Linked DNA regions of Homo sapiens: region 2 is linked to region 1. Evidence: promoter capture Hi-C in 16 types of primary human blood cells and fetal thymus (Javierre and others, 2016). All regions are on one chromosome and are shown on one strand. Each heading gives the region's core, a stretch centred on a gene start or on the middle of the fragment in contact. The rest is flanking DNA. Distances are from core to core; before and after follow the strand shown.

Region 1 (3,749 bases), core at 1,223-3,722:
ACAATGACAGGCTCTACAGTTTCAGCAGTTTCAAGGTATACCTTTGACAAAATCTTCACCTAGGACTCTGGCTAAAACTATTACTCTAGACCTGCTTGATCATCTGCAGCAGCTGCCTACGGTTCAGTACGCCTGATAAATGGCTGCTCAATTACTGACAACCCAGACTAAGTACGAATGATTTCAGAAAGGCTGGCTTCATTTATTGCTTGACTTCTAAAAACTGGAAAAAAAGTATAACTAGCCAGACATCTTCATTTAAAGGGAAAGAGACTTAAGGCTAAATAAGTGATTAGCCCATTAAAACCTAGATGATGGGTTGATGGGTGCAGCAAACCACCATGGCTCATGTTTACCTATGTAACAAACCTGCACGTTCTGCACATGTATCCTGGAACTTAAAGTATAATTTAAAAAAAAAAGGAAAAAAAGGAGTGATTAGCCCGAAGTGTTGATTAATGAGAACAAGAACCCCCAGGTGCCCTATGGCAGCCTAACAAAATCTGCAATTCCCAAAGATATTTCACTGGACATTCTCATAGTACAGTGGCCCATACATTCGAGGGATTCTTTCATGAGGTGCTCAGTATCAAGCCTCTGAGCCCAAGCTAAGCCATCATATCCCCTATGACCTGCACATATACATCCAGATGGCCTGAAGCAACTGAAGATCCACAAAAGAAGTGAAAATAGCCAGGTCCTGCCTTAACTGAAGATATTCCACCATGGTGATTTACTCCTGCCCCACCCTAACTGGTCAATTGGCCTTATGACAATACACGCTCCCCGCCCTTGTGATAATGTACTTTGTGATATTCCGCCCTTAAGAAGGTACTTTGTAATATTCTCCCCACTCTTGAGAATGTACTTTGTGAGATCCACCCCCTGCCCACAAAAAATTGCTCCTAACTCCACCGCCTATCCCAAACCTATAAGAACTAATGATAATCCCACCACCCTTTGCTGACTCTCTTTTCGGACTCAGCCCATACGCACCCAGGTGATTAAAAAGGTTTATTGCTCACACAAAGCCTGTTTGGTGGTCTCTTCACACGGACGCGCGTGACACTCAAGGATACAGTACCAGAACTAGCAGCTTTGTAGTCCAAGGACTGGTAAGGTAAGGTGACAGACTAGCATGGAGCTCACAAGCTGGGCTCCAGAGTCAGACTGCCTGGGTTGAGTTCAGGCTCTTGCACTTTCTAGTAGTGTGACTTTAGACACACTACTTAATCTCTCTATGCCTTGGTTTCCTCAAGTGTAAATCAAGGGCTATCATAATACTTACCTTAAGAGCTATCCTCAGAATTAAATGAGATAACAGTACAAAGTTCATTCAGCATAGTGGTCCCACACAAGATAAGTTTGTATTATTAACATCACATAGACTAATATTTACTGACAACACACACTGAACCCGCTTTGGTTAGCATAGCCAAACTTGGCTAGCTTTCATTACCACTGGAAAACCTGAGAGATGGAATTAGGAATTCTCTGGCAGGGCTGAAAAGTCTGGACCCATCGGCTTAAAGAAACTGATCCACCTCATGACCTGACCCTGGAAGCCTTCTCGCCCTTCACACCTATCTCAACTCCAGACTAGTCAAGAACAAAGGAGTGTAGTGGGGCCCTACTACTGCCAGGCTATGTGAGACTCTCTCATGTTATCTTTTATTCGTTGAGGAGACAGGGTACAAGTGCTTGGTGTGAATGTTGAAGCTGTTGTTAGGGCACCACTTTTCTGGCCTAGGGCTTCTTCCTAATCTGCAGCCTCCGAGCCGAGGGTCTGTGTCCCGGAGGCTCTGCCTGCAATTTCTGGACATCGGGTCCAGGGGAATGAAAGAGGGCATGAGACGCATGCCTCTGAGGCTGGACCCACTTCAGAGGCAGAGCGTCCCCACGAAAGACTCGGGAACCGGAAAAAGCCCTAAGGACGTTCCCTAGTGGCCTTGACCTTGGTGGGTGAGACTCAGTTCGCCATCCTGCTGGCGGCGGGCGATGACACAGCCCCTCAGCCAGGACGAGTATGTGGGCTGAGCGCGAGACGGGGTCTCGGAGGACTGCTAACCCCACTACGGTGGCCTCCTCGGGGCCCCCGTTTCCTCTTGAGCGTGCGGGGGCCTCTGGCCCTACCCGGACACAGTGCACGCGGCGCACTGGCCTTCAGGAGCTGGGGCGGAGGCTGGCCCCGGAACCCCCGGCGGGAGGGTCTGGGCGGTGGGGACGCCTCCATCGGGCGGCTGGCGTGCACGTCGCCGGGGTCACGCGGCCTCCCCGACGGACCCGAGCCTCCCGTGGCGGGGGTGGGGCGGCCACCGCCAGCCCGGCCCTCCCGAACGACCGGGCTCGGCCTCAGCCCCCAGAGCGTCCAGCCGCTGGCCTCACCTCCCTGCGCACGTTCAGCAACGAGTAATAGTCTTCATTGTCCAGCTCCTCCTCGCTCAAGGCCGTCGCCATCTTCGCAACCTTTCACCCCGCCAAACCGGCAAGGCCGTGCTCAAGAGGGGCCAGTGATCCGCGTCAGGGACAGCGCGGGCCAGCCCGGCTGCGCCACAGCGGCCCCTGGCGGCCCGGAGCCGTCCGCGCCCGGCGGGAGTGCGCCTGCGCTTTGCGCCCCCGCGCGGCCTAGGGCGGGACGCGGCGCCTAGGCAGCCCTGGCGGGGTGACCACGCGGGTGTCTCTTCGTGCTCCCAATGGACGCGTGGCACGCGGCGTGGCTGCGTCCTCGGGGGCCTGAGATCCAGCCAGGACTCCCTAGGGCTTTTCCTGTACTAGAAAGGGAAACTTTGCTTTTTTTTTTTTTTTTTGAGACGGAGTCATACTCTGTCGCCCAGCCTGGTGTGTGTGCAGTGGCGCAATCCCGGCTCACTGAAGCCTCCACCTCCCGGGTTCAAGCGATTCTCCTGCCTCAGCCTCCCGAGTAGCTGGGACTCCAGGCGCGCGCCACCACGCCCAGTTAATTTTTTTGTATTTTTGGTAGAGACACGGTTTCACCATGTTGGCCAGGCTGGTCTGAGGCTCCTGAACTCAGGAGATCCTCGGCCTCCCAAAGTGCTGGGATTACAGGCATGAGCCACCGCGTCCTGCCTAGAAAGGGAAACTTTGAAGTCACCTCCAGGAGATTGTCATCCTCTGGGAGACAAACCCCTGTGATACCACCTGTTACCCCACTGGCCCCAAACTCCTGGAAGAAGCGCGAGGTGCCCCCAGTGCAGGGTGCATCCGGATCCTAGATATCCCCCAAATGACATTTGTTCCTACCTCCATTGTCTTTTCTCTTGGCCACCCAGAAGCCTTCCTGCCCAGAACAGGCCTCCTCATTTTAGTTATTTGTTATTGCTCTAATTTAGGAGCACCTGGCCATCTTTTCTGCTGCTTAAATGACAAAGCAATAACTATTTGGTTCCTGATATAATTGTCTCTGGCAGGCATGTGTACCTGCAGTCCCTACCCCAGAGCCATTCTCCTGTAAATTTCTCCCTTATAATTTATCGGTGGAGTCTAATTGATTTCAACCTGGTGCCTGCTGTTTGGTGCATTATTAAAGATGTCTTGGTTACAACAATCTAAATAATTTAAAGGTCTTCGAAATGACGCCATTGTCAAGGGAAGGTGGACAGCAGCCCACTCTTGCCACCTGTTTGGTTCCCGCTGACCTGCGCAAGTCTCAGAAACCTTTGTTGTTCCTTCACTAACCACCAGTCCATAGCCATCCCCGTTGCCCTTCATAAGCAGGTCTCCTGGGAAGC
Region 2 (3,514 bases), core at 140-2,639, 180 kb after region 1:
TGGTGAACAGTGCAGCAAGGTACACAGTGAGAGGGTTCTTGCATGTCTGTTTGTGCATGCTATTCTAGTGTGACTGAGCGGGTATCTCTCATGAGGTGAATTGAAGGAAGCAACACTGTGACCACTTGAAGGAAGCAACACCGTGACCACGTAGGTGTCTAGAGTGAGTATTCCAAGCAGAGGGAACTGCAAAAGCAAAGGCGCTGAGATAGACAGAGATAGATTTGGCAATGGCGAGAGAGAAGCCAGGAGAATGACAAGGAGGCCTGTGTTGCTGTGCAGAGCGTGGGAAGGGGCACGGGAGGGGAGGAGCCAGGAAGTAGTGTCCTGTGCAGCCCCGCAGGGCTTGGCACGGTCTTTTGGTTTTGCCGAAAGAGAAGGAAAGCCACCTGAGGATTTTTGAGCAGGAAAAAGACATGACAGAAAGGATCATTCTGGGCTGGGCATGATGGCTCACGTCTGTAACCCCAGCACTTCGGGAGGCCAGTGTGGGCGGATCTTGAGGTCAGGAGTTCAAGACCAGCCTGGCCAACATAATGAAACCCTGTCACTACTAAAAATACGAAAAATTAACTGGGCATGGTGGCGGTTGCCTGTAATCTCAGCTATACGGGAGGCTGAGGCAGGAGAATTGCTTGAATCTGGGAGGCAGAGGTTGCAGTGAGTGGAGATCGCACCACTGCACTCCAGCCTGGGAGACAGTGTGAGACTCTGTCTCAAAAAAATAAAAGTAAAATAAAATAAAATAATCACTCTGAATGTAGTGCAGAGAATCTTCCAGGGCAGGGCCAGCAGACCACAGCCCATGGCAGGTTCTGGCCCACTGCCTGTTTCTATATAGCTAGCAAGCTAAGAATGCTTTGTATGTTTTTAAGTGGTTGAAAAAAAATCAGTATTTTATTTCACATGAAAATTATATGAAATTCAAATTTCAGTGTCCAGTTCCAGTTCTATTGAAACAGAGCCACACTCTTGTGTGTATTATCTGAGGCCGCTTTTGAGCTGCAACAGCCAAGCTAAGTAGTTGTAACAGGGAGCATATGGCCTGTAGAGGCTGAAAGATCTATACTGTTTGGCCCTTTACAGAAAAGAGTTGTTGATCCCTGGTTTGGGATAGAAGTAGGGAGACCAGTGAGGAGACTGTTGCAAGAACTGATGGTGCCTTGGACAGAGCAGGAAGAAATGGTCATATATGGGTTATGTTTGAAAGGAAGAGCTGGTAGACTGTATTAATATAGGAAGAGTCAGGGATGATGACTGTGTTTTTGCACTGAGTAACTGGAAGAATGCTATTCTTCTTTACTGAGATCAGGAAGACTGAGAACAGCAGGTTGGGGAGGAGGGGTGAAGAGAATGTAGGTTGTGTTTTGCACCTGTTGACTGTAAGATCAGGTGGAGATGTTCAATAGGCAGTCGTATGTTTGAGTTTGTAACTTCAAGGAGAGGCTGAGGCTGGAGCTAGATTTTGAGTGTTTTCAGCATATAGGGGGTTCTAAAAGCCGTAGGACTGGATGAAATTTTTTAGGGAGTGTATACAATAGAGAAGTCCAGACATGGAGCCCTGGGACACCCAATGTTAAGGGGAAGCGGGTAGAAGGGAGGCAAAGGAGAATGAGAAGCAATCAGAGAAGGAAGACAGGAGATGGGGGTGTCCTGGAAGTGCATGTTTCTCTTTGCTTTGCTTTGCTTTTTTGAGACAGAATGTCCCTCTGGTCTCAGCTCACTGCCATTTCCACTTCCCGGGTTCAAGTGATTCTCTTGCCTCAGCCTCCCAAGCTGGGATTACAGGTGTGTGCCACCATGCCTGGCCAATTTTTTTATTTTTAGTAGAGATGGGGTTTTGCTGGGTTGGCCAGGCTGGTCTCGATCCCCTGACTTCAAGTGATCCACATGCCTTGGCCTCCCAAAATGCTGGGATTACAGGTGTGAGCCACCGCGCCCGGACAAGGAAGCTCATGTTTCAAAGCAGAGTGATATCTATGTCAGATGCTGCTAAAGCTGGAGCAAGAAACAGACGGGTTTCACTGTGGGCTTGGTAGCGGGGCGATCGTTGGTGACTTTGATAAGAGCTGTATGAGTGAAATGGTGAGAATAAAAGCCCAGTTCCAGGTGGTTCAAGCAAAAACGACTGGATAGGGAGCTGAGCTGGTGCTCTGAAGGAATTCTGCTTTCGGCAGCCTAAGTGTAGGGCAGGAGAGGGCAGGAGAGGGCAGGGAGTTGGATTTAACCTGGGATTAGGATTTTGCCAGGTGAGTACAGTGGAGGGAGGAGGCATAAGGGAGTTGAGCATTGCGCAGAAGAATCGATGTGAGGATTGAGGATAGACCATGTGGTCTAAGCCAGGCAAGGAGCCAGGAGGCATGAAGGAGCTGAGGGTCAGTAAGAGGTCATGGGGTCAGTGGATTCAAGGAATAGGATCGAGGAGTTGTTGGAGTTGGGATAGTCGAAGAGTAGATAGAGGGCTTGAAATCGGTATCATGGAGGGGTCAGTTTTGGTTACATCAAGGTCAGGGGCTCTGCTGTACAGTAGCAGTGTCAGTGAGTCACGTGTAATTTTTAATGTTCTAGTAACCATATTTTTAATAGGTAAAAATAAAGGAAACTAATTTTAATAATATATTGTAATATATTTTATTTTACCCAGTAAGTCTACATTACATGACCATGTAGTAAGTATAAAAATTGAGAAGTTACTTATTTTGGTATGAAGTCTTTGAAATTGGTATATATCTTATATTTCCATTACCTTCTAATTTGAAGTAGACACATTTCAGGTGCTCAGTGGCTGCCTTACTGGACAGCTCATGGGATGGTCATGGAGTGTAGTCCAGGATTATCACAGGGGAAGTGTTTAAAGGAACAAGGAGGTCGTGGTTCATGAAGGATTGGCCGTGTAGATCTAAAACCATTTCTCACTCCTTCTGAGGGGAGCAAGGCTGAAGAGGAAGGAGGGGACACCATGGCAGTTGGTAGAGGTCATGTGCTTCGATGGCTGAACCTAGCAGCCTTTTACCATGCAGAGAATTTAGCTTATTCTCTAGAGACACACACACACACACACACACACACACACACACACACACACACAATTTTGTTTGGCTTTGATCCACACAATGTGTTTTTAAAGATGAATAAAAATTGATAATATCAGGTATTTTTTAGCCTCGTAGGCCAGGAAAAAGTAAAATATTTTGAAAGAGTAAACAGGAGCGTCTCAGCAGCATACATGTTACTTTTCATCTTAATCATGTGAGCCTCTCATGAAAGCCTCCAAGGAGGAGGTTAATGGATGCCCCAATTCTGTACCTTTATCAGGTTTAAGCTTACTTCAGTTTCCCTTTAGTTTGTTGCCTGCAGTATCATAATTAACCAAAGAATTCTTCTCAAAAATTACCCTCAAAAATCCTACAAACCCCACTGTTAGGAAGCGAGCCCATTTTGAGGAAGTATTTGTGAACCCTGTGTTCTTGGATGCCTTATGTGTTGAAGGAATAATTACTTGTTCATTTTGTAG

The links. The method cuts DNA at HindIII sites, captures the fragments that hold promoters and counts their contacts. A CHiCAGO score of 5 or more calls a contact.
Region 2: a contact is called between a fragment that was not itself captured here and the fragment with the promoter of DNAJC11 in region 1, in 1 of 17 cell types (monocytes). The highest score is 5.9, in monocytes.

The regions. Positions count from the first base shown.
Region 1 is chr1:6,699,344-6,703,092 of GRCh38, forward strand. DNAJC11 (DnaJ heat shock protein family (Hsp40) member C11) reads right to left here and starts at 2,473. Exons shown (of 16, transcript NM_018198.4): 1 at 2,386-2,473. The coding sequence starts at 2,457. RefSeq lists a silencer at 2,260-2,709. The HindIII fragment of the contact is 16,969 bases long and covers 1-3,749 here.
Region 2 is chr1:6,881,249-6,884,762 of GRCh38, forward strand. All of the region lies in intron 3 of CAMTA1 (calmodulin binding transcription activator 1), which reads left to right. Among named protein-coding and RNA genes, the nearest start is that of CAMTA1, 98 kb to the left of the region's middle. The HindIII fragment of the contact is 3,861 bases long and covers 1-3,320 here.